3 separate regions of the Homo sapiens genome follow, and regions 1 and 2 are each linked to region 3. The links are contacts of gene promoters, found by promoter capture Hi-C in blood cells and fetal thymus (Javierre and others, 2016). All regions are on one chromosome and are shown on one strand. The core of a region is centred on a gene start or on the middle of the fragment in contact, and the rest is flanking DNA. Distances in the headings are between cores, read along the strand shown. Region 1 overlaps MAP2K5 (mitogen-activated protein kinase kinase 5). Region 2 has its middle 15 kb from the start of RNU6-1. Region 3 holds the start of C15orf61 (chromosome 15 open reading frame 61).

Region 1 (4,374 bases), core at 461-2,960, 270 kb after region 3:
TAATGTTTTTGGGACTACGGGTTCATTACACTTCTGAGTGTGAGGTCTTTCCACAGAGCGCCCAAGGTCCCATTGCATTATATCATGCAATAAAAATACCCTTTTCATATCACACACTAATAAACTGTATTTGAAATGCTGTCTGAGGGCACTGCCGTCTTGTCTGTAGGCTGTGCACAAGTGCAACAGTTGGGATTCCTTTTTTCTATTTTGTGGTTTAGTTACATGGAATTCTAAACCCAGAAGTCTGCTCATTCTTGTTTTAAATGGGGAGCAAGTTGGGTCTTTAGGGCTGAGGCTCAGAGGAGGGGCTGCTTACTGAGTGGTGAGGGTCTTTAAGATGTGGAGAGCAGCCTTTAATTCTCTACTGCAGCTGTCAGGAGAGCCAGTCACATAAAAACAAACAAACAAAAAAAAAAAAACCTGTGTCCTAATGTCTGCCACACTTAGTGCTGAACATGTGTTAGGTGTTATAAAAGTTTCCTTAGAAAAGGAGTATGATAAGTACTGCAAAATTTAGGCCACTGATAGTTATGACTATGGAACTGCCTCTGGGCTGGGAATTTCACACACACTGTCCTGTGAGGTTGATGCTGTTCTCCATATTTTACAGAAGACGAGTCAGAGCTAGGGGGAATAAGCTGTGTTGTAGAGAATGAAATCCATAGGACTCCTGGAAACCACAGGTAAATTATTACCTGTCTACCCAGAGAGAGCTCCTCACGCCATGAATAGTCCACCTGTGAGACATCCGAGCTGCAGCTGGGCAGGAGCCAAGCATCTTCTTTTCAAATGCACATGGCCCTAGTGCCCTTCTTAAGTTATTCATACTTTCCTGTGAATTGGCTTAATGTCAGCAGTTAGCTGGCATAAGATGACTTTGAAGCTTTGGAAGAGGAGACTCTTCTGCATTAAACAGGAAAAGGGGCATTGGAGTTGAGGGATGAGGCAAAGACTGAAGGATCAAAGGGCTTCAAATCACCTGTTTCATATTTTCTCTAAGGCAGACTCTGACTTTGTTATGCAGGGGCTTGTTTTGACCACTTGTGGAGTGTGGGGAAAGACTGACCTGTGAAGGCCAAGAACCTCAAGAAACTTGGGCTCAGGCATCATTACCATCTTAGAGTGCAGTGTCCTTGTTTATAAAATAGGTTATCATTTACTTTCTGATAGGGCTTTTGGAGATCACATGAACTAATGTAAATGAAAGCACCTAGTGAGCACCTGGCACAGGGTAAGTGCTCACAACTGGCTGCTATTATATTGCACATCATCACAAAAGGCACAGGTTTGGGAGCTGACATCCAGTGCAAATCCCAGCTCTACCTTGGCCAAATCCACAAATTGAGGGAAGTAACAGTAATGCCATCCAGCTGCTTTATGGGGTTGTTGTGACACTGAAATAAGATAATGAGCTTGAAAGCCGGTTGTAGAATGAAAACCACTACTCAAATGCTGGTATCAGTAAATATAAGCATTTCTCTCTCCAAATCAACATATTCAAACTGGGTTGTCTTTAAATAAATATCCTTACAGCAAAGGCAGTAGGAGCAGCTATTAGGAAGATTCACTGATCTGTTCCCCTCACCACCAGGGAGAATGTCATGGCTGCAACAAAGACTTAAAATAGCACAAAGCATATAAAAGTCAGGGCAATTCTTACCTCCTACCTCTTCATAACGACAGAGCACCAGGCAGAGGAGGGGCAGGGCCAGGTCTCTGCTCACCTGCATTGGTGAGAAGAGAGCCAATACCTGCTCAATGTGGACAGTATTGCTTAGAACAGTGGTGGGAGGTCAGGTTTGCAAAAGGAGGTTAAGATCAAAGGAACTGTGTTGAAGGGTTGAGTTGGTCTGGTGGAAAGAAAAAAACTAGGACGTTGCTAAGACCCTCCTGCAAAAGACTGGACCTTCTGGCTCTAGGCAAAGTCCCCTTAATTGTTATGAGAAGAGTATTTAAATTTCAAGGATAATTAGTTTTTCTCTTAAGGGGTATAGGGTTAGACTAAACCTTTTATTTTTAGATGTGAGGTCTTTGAAACACTTGGATACACCTCTCAGGGGTTAAATCTGTCTTTGGGGCTACCAGGACTTGAAAAATGTTGCTCTGTATCAAGAAAACCAGAAGTGACAAGTTCATTTAAAAAGCCTGGTTTGTCATTGTTTATCTAATTTTCGGGGTTGACACAGAAAATTAAACCAGCTGACACTCACTCTCTGACCGTCTCTCTGGCTCATTTCCCTGGTCCTTTCCTACCTGACCTTGCAACTACAAAATGCTCCAGACCCTAAAATATAAAACTTCCCACTGAGTTTCTGAGTCACCCTGCAGTCATTCCAAGATTATGTCATTGGATGTCATCCCTAATGGTATTAAAAATCAAGATGAAGTTGTAAATCTGCTCTGTGAGATATTTCTTTTCCGCCCCCCGCTTTGACCATAAATCTTAAAAGTAATCAAACTCTCTGCAAAGAAGCCAAGGTAAACTTGGGCCCAAAGCGGCCCCGTATGTCTTTAATGAATTCAGAGGATCGGCAAGCTTGTCTGTCCCCGTGAGATCACATGGTGCTTCATGGCAAACTTTACAGAAAAGTGGGCAAAGTGAGAGCCTTCATTGTGTTTAATATGGATTTTCTAAAACTCACATGGCAACATCATAGGTGGATGAGCTGCTCCATGTAAGAAAATTATTCAGATAACTGTAGTGTATTCTTTATAAAATCAAACTTTAAAAAATTACAAGCAAGAGGTCTTAAATGTGTTATAACACTGCTCTATCCTCTTAAACAGATTACATGCATCAGGATTTAATTTTTTACAAAGTTAAATTTACTTCCAGCTACTCGGGAAACTGAAACAGGATCATCTGAGCCCAGGAGTTCAAAGGTGTAGTGCGGAATGATTGTGCTTGTGAATAGCCACTGTGCTCCAGTCAGGGCAACACTGTGAGACCTCATCTCTAAAAAAAAACAAAAAATTCTTTAGCTCATTATTATGGACATTGTCTATTTGCCATGTTCTATACCAGTATCTCCTGATATTGACACGAGTAGGGCCATTTGTCCCTAGGCTGGTTGACCCCAAGCTGGTTTTTTGTTTTTGTTGTATAGTTTTGCTAGTAGATGTCATTTCTTGCTGCTGTTCTTGTTCCTCCCTTTAACACACCTTCGTCTTCTCCTTCTATTTGGCTGTTTCTCTTGTGCTTTTAATTGGGAAATCAGATACTAAGCTTGTTAGAATCAAGTCTAAAATACAAGAAAGCTGGCTTAAGGAAAAGCTTGAGGCACTACCTAAAATTAAAATGTTCAAGTTCTAGTTTAACTTCCATATTCTTAGTCTGAGATAAGGGTGTCAAAGTATAGTGGTCTATAGATTGTAAAGTGCCCCTAGATTTGGAAACTGGCCATTTCACTGTATAGAAAATATACTCTTTGATCACGTTGTATATAAATGTCCAAGTTTGAAGCAATATGATTATTTTGATCTTGAATCAGTAATTAAGGTGGACTTCAAACTGTTGAGGTTTTATTTTCTGAGAGGACCAAAGAGTCATGAATGTGCCAGGGAAAGTCCTTAGGTTCTAAAACCAGACTTAGATCTAGGCACATAGAAACCGCTCCACACATCCATAGTGAATCTTATTGAATTAAAGACCCTTGGTAAAATAGACACAGCTACCATTAGAAGGAAGCTTGCAACTGAATAACTTGTCTTTCTTAACAGTGGAAATAGACTTTGGTTTCATGAGGCTCTGCAGTGAAGGTGGCCAGCTTATTTGTAACCAAAGTGTGCTCCCTCAGTCATTCATTCTGCCCATGACCAGTGACACCACCTTGGAAAATGCAGGTCACACCAGTCACCACCATCAAAAACGCATTTCAGGCTTCTGTACATTTAATTTTCTTCAACATTACCTTGGAAACCACAGTAAATCAATAACAGAATAGTTAAATACCACAGGTTCTTTGTGTTTTGTTTTAGAAAATATTGCTCAAGGCTAAGAGTGAGTTCTATTGATGATTTTTATTTGCTGCTGGGATGCAAAACAATCAGAATTTTCGAAGAGTTTGCTTCCTTTTTGTGCATTTCCTTTTTTAAAAAAGGAGGGGTCTGTTTCAGATGGAAAACATTGGTCGCTAATAGCAGAAACTTGAGAATAATTGGTAATTTTCAATCCTGTAGAAAACTAGACTAGGTCTGATGACTTTGACCTTTGTTACGCTCTTCTTCCAAATTTTCCCCAGCCAGCTCCCTGCACTCCTGACCCTCAGCAGCCCATTCCACTGAGGGTCGGGTAACTCTGGAACATCACAGCTGAAAAAAAAAAAAAAAAAAAGACGGTACTTCATTTAGCGTTATTTACATTTACCCAAA
Region 2 (4,820 bases), core at 65-2,564, 330 kb after region 3:
TCCCAGTGAAGTGGCACCATTCGCCTGGGGGGATACCTGAGGTTCATTGTCTCATGCCAGGGAAATCAAGGACATGGACACACAAGGAGTGAGGTTGAGAGCGGAGGTTTAATAGAAGGAGGCCAGGCATGGTGGCTCACACTTGTAATCCTAGCACTTTGGGAAGCCAAGGTGGGTGGATCACGAAGTCAAAAAGATCGAAACCATCCTGGCCAACATGATGAAATCCCGTCTCTACTAAAAATACAAAAATTAGCTGGGTGTGGTGGTGCACGACTGTAGTGCCAGCTACAGGCTGAGGCAGGAGAATCACTTGAACACGGGAGGTGGAGGTTGTAGTGAGCTGAGATCACACGACTGCACTTCAGTCTGGTGACAAAGTGAGACTCCATCTCAAAAAAAAAAAAAAAAAAAGGCGAAAGAAAGAGAAAACCTTTCTCCTACAAGGAGAGGGGTCCTGAGCAGGTTTCCAGTCCACAGTGAAATGCAGGGTTTTATAGATGAGCTTGAGAAGGTAGCGTCTGATTTACATAGAGCACGAAAGAGTGCTTGGACCAGGTGTGCCATTTGCATAAGGCATGAAAAAGTGGTTAGGACTAGGTATGCTATTTGCATAGTGTGTAAAAGTCTGGCCACCCCCACCCTAATCTTTTATTATGCAGATGAGCTTTCTACCTGGCTGGCACCATGTTGCCTGTTCCTTTACTGTACACATGGTGACAAAAGGGAAGTTGAAGCCTCCATATTGAACATACCTGGCCCTCAGGTAACCCTTTTCTATTGGCACAGGTGCTGGCATTCGCCCGTGCAAGCTTCCAGCTTGCTTATCTGTTTGCAGCTCGATTTTTCAGGCTGCTCTTTGTTAGAAAAGCAATGATTTTGGGCTGCTTTTTGTTGAAAGGGAATTTCTGCCGAGGACTCTTACCCTCACGATCTGCCTGAATAATTTCTTTCTGTCTCCTGTATCACCAGCACCTGGCACAGCACCTGAATTTTAAATCTTATTTATTTATTTATTTATTTATAGAGACAAGTTCTTGCTCTGTCGCCTAGGCGACACTATAACATCAACCTCCTGGCCTCAAGTGATCCTCCCACTTTGGCCTCCCAAAGTGTTGGGATTATAGGTGTGAGCCACCACACCTGGCCTTAATAGACACATTTTTTTCTTTAAAGCTTCTGTTACAAAGGACAGATAAGAGGATTTCAAGAGTTAAGATGACCACAGATCAAACTTCCTTGATGTGCCATCTTCCAACTTAAATTCGAAAGCTACTTGAGACACAGAAAAAGACAAAAACTGAGAACCATTCAGAAAACTTAGTGGTCAGTTGTTGGCCAGAGTCCAAGATGGAAATTTCCCTAATAACCTGCCACTGGGGCTGGGGGAAGTCACATGGTAGGTGGCCTGTGCATACTTTGCCCTCTAAAGTGGCCCAGAACCTGCAGACAGGAAGCTTGCAGGGAGAAGCTTAGGCCCTCATTCACTGTACAGGGCTGCACTCACCAGCAAATGGGCAGCACACTCCTAACACTCAAGTATGGTTTTCTGAGGCAGTCACTTCTGTCCACCCTCACCCCTTCCGTTAGACTGTCTCTGCCTGTGTCTGTGGGGACACTGTGGCACTCAGTACCTCTGAGCAGGGAGCAGGGCAGGACTGATGAGGAGGTGGCCTAAAAGGCACGCTCGCCTAATGCAGGGACCCTACAGATGGAAAGAGTGCGGTTTTATTTCAAAATATCTGATACACAGTAATATAGATACCTTGTAGTACTTAAATCGTATTAACCCAGTTTGAAGGTCTTTGGCTTTTAGTATCATGCGTTTATTTTTATGTTGGCATGTTTGGTTTTATTTCTTTTATTTTGGTTTATGCCTTCTCTTTTTCATGTTTGTTTTTGTTTTTGCCTTCTATGATAAGCAAAATTGCATGATGATGTATTTTTTATTTATTTATTTTTTTTTTGAGATGGAGTCTAGCTCTGTTGCTCAGGCTGGAGTGCAGTAGCACAATCTCGGCTCACTGCAACCTCCACCTCCCGGGTTCAAGCGATTCTCCTGCCTTAGCCTCCCAAGTAGCTGGGATTACAGGCGCCCACCACCATGCCCAGCTAATTTTTGTATTTTTAGTAGAGACAGGGTTTCACTGTGTTGGCCAGGGTGGTCTCGAACTCCTGACCTGATGATCCGCCCACCTCGGCCTCCCAAAGTGCTGGGATTACAAGCGTGAGCCACCGCGCCTGGCCCTTTTTTTTTTTTTTTTTTAAGACAGAATCTCGCTATGTTGCCCAGGCTGGAGTGCAGTGGCGCGATCTCAGCTCACTGCAACCTCCGCCTCCTGGATTCAAGTGATTCTCCTGCCTCAGCCTCCTAAGTAGCTGGGATTACAGGCGCCTGCCACCGCGCCCTGCAATTTTTGTATTTTTAGTAGAGACAGGGTTTCACCATCTTGGCCAGGCTGGTCTTGAACTCCTGACCTTGTGATCCACCTGCCTCAGCCTCCCAAAGTGCTGGGATTACAGGCATGAGCCACCGTGCCCAGCCGATGATGTATTTTTTTAGAGTCATGGTCTCGCTATGTTGCCAGGCTGGACTTGAACTCCTGGTCTCAAATGATTCTCCAGTCTCAGCTTCCTGAGTAGCTAGGAGTACAGGTGCACCATTGTACCTGGCTGATGATTTGTTTTTATCTTCTGTAATTTGAAAAGTATATAGCTATATAGCCTATTGTTTTAATTCTGCCAACACCTTGAAGATTTTTAAAAACTTTTTTGAACCCATGTAGTATAGTTTGGACTTCCCCTCCAAATCTCATGTTGAGATGTAATCCCCAATGTTGGAGGTGGGGTCTGGTGGGAGGTGTTTGAGTCATGGGGGTAAATCCCTTGATGCTTTCCCGGAGATAGTGAGTTCTCATGAGATCTGGTTGTTGTAAAGTGTGGCACCTCCCCCACGCTCTCTCTTGCTCGTGCTCTGCCATGTGAAACAGCAGCTCTCCCTTTGCCATCTCCCAGGAGTAAAAGTTTCCTGAGACCTTCCCAGAAGCCAAACAGATGCCTAGCACCAGGCTTCCTGTACACTCTGTAGAACCATGAGCCATTTAAACCTCTTTTCTTTATAAATTACCCAGTCTCAGGTGTTTCTTTACACAATGCAAGAACATCCTAACACACCATGTTTCTCTATCAGATTGAAAATAAATCTACCATGTTTGCCTCCCTTCCAATATAAAGTGAGAAGTTTTTCAGGCCCTCCTTCCATATCTCTTCATTAGAGGCCTAGGTTATCACACCTCTCTTTTTTAAAATGATATAGGTCTTCTTTTTACAAAAAATTGGTTTTAAATTTGGGATCCAAATTTTAGCCATGTTTATCATTATTTATTTGATACTCTGTGTTTAAATGGTTTCCACATTTCCTGCAGGCTCCACTTACTATGGCTGTAAAACAAATTAGCCCCAAACAGTGGCCAGGTGCAATGGCTCGTGCCTGTAATCCCAGCACTTTAGAAGAGGCCGAGGAAGGCCAATCACTTGAGGCCAGGAGTTGGAGACCAGCCTGGCCAATATGGCGAAACCTCGTCTCTACTAAAAACACAAAAATTAGCCAGGCAAGGTGGTGTGTGCCTGTAGTCCCAGCTACTTGGGAGGCTGAGGCAGGAGAATTGCTTGAACCTGGAAAGCAGAGGTTGCAATGAGCCAAGATTGCGCCACTGCACTCCAGCCTGGGTGACAGAGAGAGACTGTTTCAAAAAATAAAATAGGCCAGGTGCAGCAGCTCATGCCTGTAATCTTAGCACCTTGGCAGCCCGAGGCAAGTGGATCACCTGAGATCAGGAGTTCAAGACCAGCCTGGCCAACATGGTGAAACCCTGTCTCTACTAAAAATACAAAAATTAGCTGGGTGTGGTGGCACATGCCTGTAATCCCAGCTACTTGGGAGGCTGAAACAGGAGAATTGCTTGAACCTGGGAGGCAGAGGTTGTAGTGAGCCGAGACCACACCACTGCACTCTAGCCTGGGTCACAGAGTGAGACTGTCTCAAAAAACATAAAATAAAAATTAAAATTAATTATCCTAAAGCTTAATGCTTAAAACAATAATCATTTATTACCTCTTGCTCTTTCTGTGCATTACAGTTTAGACAAGGTATAACAGGGATGGCTTATCTCTCCTCCAAAGGAGATGTGAAATGTCTGAGGCCTCGCAGTAAAACTCCAAAGTTGAGCCTCTAGCTTGTCTAGAATCATCTGAAGGCTTGCTTACCTGAAGTTGGTGCTGGCTGTCACTCAGCTGGAGGCCTCGCTGGGGCTATTGACCAGAACACCCACACATGGCCTCTGGTGTGCCTGGTCTCCCTCACAACATAGTGGCTGAGTTCCAAAGGCAAGCATCTAGAGAGAGCGAGCCAGGTGGAAGCCATTGCCTTTTATGACCTAGCCTCAGAAATCATTCAGTGTCACTTCTGCTGCATCCTGGTGGTTGGGACAGGTACAAAGTTCTGCCCAACTTCCATGGAAGTGTGTCAAGATCACTTTGTAAGATGAACATGTGCGGGTGCCCACATATGTACACACGTGTGTGCATGTATACACATGTACATGCATATGTATATGCTGATATGGTCATCTTTGAAAAAAGACCATCAGCCATACTGTATTTCCTTAAATTCTTGATTTTCAACTTATGTTTCAGGCAGTTGCAGAGTGTCTTTGAGTAACTTTCAGGAAGATTGCATGCTATGAGTCTCAATGTGCAGTATGTAAAACGGCCATCTTCTTTCTTATTTTAAAATTCATAGCCAGGTGCGGTAGCTCACC
Region 3 (4,634 bases), core at 289-2,788:
TAATCCCACCACTTTGGGAGGCCGAGGCGGGCGGATCACTTGAGCCCAAGTGTTCAAGACCAGCCTGGGCAACATGGCAAAATTCCACCTCTACAAAAAATACCAAAAAAAGCAGCCGAGTGTAGGTGGCACACACCTGCAGTCCCAGCTACTTGGGAGGCTGAGGGTGGGAGGATCTCTTGAGCCCAGGAGGCAGAAGTTGCAGTGAGCCGAGATCGAGCAGCTGCACTCCAGCCTAGACAACAGTGAGATCCTTTCTAAAAAAAAGAAAAGAAAAAGAAATTCTATAAAGTTCAAGTTCTATAAGGTAAAGTTCAACTTCAAATTCTGTAAGGTAAAGTTCAAGATTCGGCATATGTTGGTGGGTGCTCAATGTTCAATAAAAACTGGGGAATAGGCCTGGTGCAGTGGCTCACGCCTGTAATCCCAGCACTTTGGGAGGCCGAGGCAGGTGGATCACGAGGTCATGAGTTTGAGACCAGCCTGGCCAACATGGTGAAACCCCGTCTCTATTAAAAATACAAAAATTAGCCAGGCGTGGTGGTGCACGCCTGTAATCCCAGCCACTCGGGAGGCTGAGGCAGGAAAATCACTTGAACCTGGGAGGCAGAGGTTGCAGTGAGCTGAGATTGCACCACTGCACTCCAGCCTGGGCAACAGAGTGAGACTCCGTCTCAAAAAAACAAAACAAAACAAAACAAAAAACTGGGGAATATAAAATTTCGCCATACTATCCTACATCCCCCTTGAGTTTTTAGCAACGATAGTAATTGTTATATGATGCTTAACGCGTAATTACTGTACCTCATTTACATAAGGTGGTTTCAGACACATCATCTTGTTTATGTATGGCCTCTCCAAACAAAATGAGTTTAGGACAAAAGAGGAAATCCTTTTCTAAAAGCAGTTTTGTCCGTAAGTTACTGCCTCAAGAGGCCGCAAAGTTTGAGCAAAGCTTTTCCGAAAGTAATGGATTGGTAATGGGTGACTGAGGTCCACAAAGCTCGATAAGAGGCTCCTGGTCCGTCTACCAGGTTCTTAGAGGGAGGTGCCTTTGTGTGTTCGGACGCTGCACTGAGACACGTGAGGTTTTTAAATAAACTTTTGATTTTGAAATCTCTGGGACTAATTTTAAACAGTGAACCCGACAGCGAGGACCTACACACAAAAGTGCTCCCGGCCTTACCAAACAACGCAGACCCGGGGTCACGCCTCGTCCTGTTTCAACAACAACACCCAAGGGCTTCCCTGGAGCCCAGGGCGTGGGAGGGAGACTTGGGTTTGAGTTCTGCACCTTGCGGAGGTGGTTAGTTATTTAATTGTCTTCCACCTGAATTTTCCTCAGGCCCAAATTGATGAGACCTCCCCGAATCCCTCCCCTGCCCGAGTTACTAATGACGGCGTGAGGTCACACCTGGCCACTCAAAACCAGCTCCTTGACGCAGGTGACCCTCCGCCTCGCGCAGCTCACGCTTCCCATCCCCCGGACTCCACCCCCAGCGGGAGGCCACGGGGCCGCTGTGCGCACGCGCCGCCGCACACCGGGGGCTCTCGGGCACCCGCGCGGCGCCGGTTGGCCTTCCCGGCGCTCGCCCGGGGGCGCGCTTGCGCGCCAGCGGCTGCGGACACCAGCCTGCGTCCCCGGCGCGGCGGGCCATGGAGGCCCTGAGGAGGGCCCACGAGGTCGCGCTCCGCCTGCTGCTGTGTAGGCCGTGGGCCTCGCGCGCCGCCGCCCGCCCCAAGCCCAGCGCCTCGGAGGTGCTGACGCGGCATCTGCTGCAGCGGCGCCTGCCGCACTGGACCTCCTTCTGCGTGCCCTACAGCGCCGTCCGCAACGACCAGTTCGGCCTCTCGCACTTCAACTGGCCGGTGCAGGGCGCCAACTACCACGTCCTGCGCACCGGCTGCTTCCCCTTCATCAAGTACCACTGCTCCAAGGCTCCCTGGCAGGACCTGGCCCGGCAGAACCGCTTCTTCACGGCGCTCAAGGTCGTCAACCTCGGTGAGTGGCGACTGCCGCGCCCACGCGGTGAAGCCCGCCCGGCCGGGACGGCCCCTCAGCCACCGAGCACGTGACGAACGCTCGCAGGCCGGTAGAGTCCCGCGGGAGTCAGCTCTGCCTCCCGGCGCCGGCTTCGCCTGGGGTCCTTTGTACTCCTCGCCCAGGGGGTCCCCAGCTTGCTGAGCTCCTGGCACCCGAAGCCGTTCGCCTGCTGCGGGCGCGTCCTCGGGCCTAGGGAGGGGCGGGTCGCCCTCCTGTCCTGCCCATGTTAACCAGAGTAGACCCCTGGCCTGGGCAGTAAGCCAGGGGGCGTCAGGAAACGCCCCCTAGAAAGTGGCTCTGAAGTTGACATCCGTCCTACTGCATGGCAGGACTCATTCCCGTGAACATCACTTTGCAGCTGCGTTTATGTTGCAATAACTGGAACTACTCTTTTAAGTTTCTTTTGTTTTCTTTGTATGAATTCCCGGCAAGTTCGTTTTACTAAAAGCACCAAAGGTTTTCACCAGACATAACAGCTTCCTGAGGTGCTAGGCCTAAAAGATTTTTAAAGATCTTTAATATTTGTATATTTTCATGGAGACGCCCTGAGGATGTTTACTGTCACTAGGTGTTTATTTTCTTTTGGTTTAATGACAGAAGAGGGAGGTACGAACATGGACATGGGTGTATCTTTTATAGGTCAGGGGAAAACAGAAGGCCTCAAGATGTTTTGAACTTACTAATAGCTGGCATAAAATCAATCTAGATTTCAGTGATTCAAAATCTAGCCATGGAGCTGAATGAACCATGTTACCCAGCCAGGTTTTTAAAGCCAGGATTAAAACTAAACCCTGCGCAGCCGTACTACTAATACTATTACATAATCTGATCGTCCATTAAGGTTAAAAATAGTCTGTGTATTTGTGCTTATAATAACACATATGTCAGTCGTGGGCTTTTTGAGCCGTTACTCCACTGGACTGTCCTGTAAGGAGATAATTGTTTAGCAACGTGTTATCCTTTAAAAATGCCTCTTATTATTTGGCTGATGGACTGTATAGAGCATGCCCACTACTTTGGAGGTTGGTTGAAGTTGAAGGGTGAGGTGACTTAGGAAATTCAATTCGAAATTATTTGGAAAGACTGGAGTGTTAACTAGATTCGAGAAGTATAAGTTTATTTTAGCATTTTTCATAAGTAAGAAATCATTCTTCCCTAAAGAATAATAGGTTAGGAAAAGCATAACGGGAGAGTTATAGGTAAACCATGAGCCAAATGCCTTTTTTTCCTTTAAAGTCACATTTTTAGTGTTGACATTTTGTTTAAGAGCACCTTAATGATTAGGGGCCTCTCTTTTAGATTTAGAGATTAAGACATCCAAAAAAAGTGGATACTCAGAACATTCCACACATAGAAAAGTAAAACCTTTTAAAGTTGAAAGAAACAACAGTTGTAGTGTTTTTTGTTTTGTTTTGTTTATTAATGTGGGAGAGTGATTTAATGGTCTGTATGGTCTTTTGGACATTCTAAAAATCCTGCTAAAATGGGAGTAAGAGTTCTAAGTTAAGCAAAAAGGACAACTTTTTGCTCATGCATGCTTTAATACAAATTGGGATATACTGATAAAGGGAATTAAAAAATATTTTAAAGTGGTGAACACATCTGGTAACGTTTATTTTTAATTTTTGTCTGAAGGTAGAGGGGATGTGAATTAGATAATAGGTCCTTTCCTATTCTGTGAGGTACAATCGTCTCTCTGGGTGATAAAGTACATATCCTATTAATATTATACTTAGGATTTTGTTCCTCTTCTTCCCTTCCAAATTCATTTTTCCATTTTGTAAATAATAAAGATTTCTGTTTACCCATTTGCTCCTTTTCTCCTCCGTCTTCCCTTCAATGGAAGCTGACATTTTACTGATGGTTTACCAGTCTAGGTATCCTGCTGAGAAGTAGATTGAGATTTAAGAAAAGCAACTTACCATTGGAATGAATGAGATTTACTGAGGAATTCTAATTTTTTAAAGTGCTTAATTTGACAGTGGTTTACCTACTGTTCAGCTGACTCAAAGTGAATTATTATGCAAAGAACTGATTTGGAGGTTCTTTTGATGTTACATGTTTCAGATATAAATTTAATTTTTCAGAAAAAATTGAATTTTTCATAGAATCTTATAGACTTCAAAGCATGTGTGCTACAAAGATTTTGTAATATATAAGTTATATAGGTGGCAAACCTTCCCATTTTGAGTATTAGTCTGACTGCATTAAATAAACAGACAGCAAGGGGAAAAAAATACAGAATTTCTGACTCAGATCATAACTCCATCTCCTGTCAAACAGCATCACTGCTAATGGTTGCTGGTTATTTTTTAATAAGACATAATATAGTTATTAAGCTAGTAATCTTTGATCAGCCCTTGATTTTAGCTGAAAATATATTGACCGTTTATTTCTGTATTTGTGATTTTTCAAAAGTATGAATTTTTTAAATCAATATGTTAACTGAAAACTATGATAAATACTATAAAAGAAAATTGTCAGTGTCACCAGGTATTCCTTAAATTTATATACTTAGCCTTGGTTTAAGAGGCCTATTTTATGTATTTTAGTCTCAGTATGCTTAGAAAATTAGTAATTGCTTCTAGAG

What was found. The method cuts DNA at HindIII sites, captures the fragments that hold promoters and counts their contacts. A CHiCAGO score of 5 or more calls a contact.
Region 1: a contact is called between a fragment that was not itself captured here and the fragment with the promoter of C15orf61 in region 3, in 1 of 17 cell types (naive B cells). The highest score is 5.2, in naive B cells.
Region 2: a contact is called between a fragment that was not itself captured here and the fragment with the promoter of C15orf61 in region 3, in 2 of 17 cell types (total CD8 T cells and naive CD4 T cells). The highest score is 7.2, in total CD8 T cells.

What each region holds. Positions count from the first base shown.
Region 1 is chr15:67,790,322-67,794,695 of GRCh38, forward strand. The region is part of intron 21 of MAP2K5 (mitogen-activated protein kinase kinase 5); the gene reads left to right. Among named protein-coding and RNA genes, the nearest start is that of SKOR1, 33 kb to the right of the region's middle. RefSeq lists an enhancer at 533-1,402. The HindIII fragment of the contact is 1,653 bases long and covers 885-2,537 here.
Region 2 is chr15:67,853,080-67,857,899 of GRCh38, forward strand. No RefSeq gene overlaps it. Among named protein-coding and RNA genes, the nearest start is that of RNU6-1, 15 kb to the left of the region's middle. RefSeq lists enhancers at 1-317, 318-873, 2,971-3,050. The HindIII fragment of the contact is 281 bases long and covers 1,175-1,455 here.
Region 3 is chr15:67,519,593-67,524,226 of GRCh38, forward strand. C15orf61 (chromosome 15 open reading frame 61) reads left to right here and starts at 1,539. Exons shown (of 2, transcript NM_001143936.2): 1 at 1,539-2,002. The coding sequence starts at 1,657. IQCH-AS1 (IQCH antisense RNA 1) reads right to left here and starts at 2,252. Exons shown (of 6, transcript NR_040052.1): 1 at 1,927-2,252. RefSeq lists enhancers at 1,126-1,205, 1,846-1,965 and a silencer at 1,386-1,735. The HindIII fragment of the contact is 4,154 bases long and covers 954-4,634 here.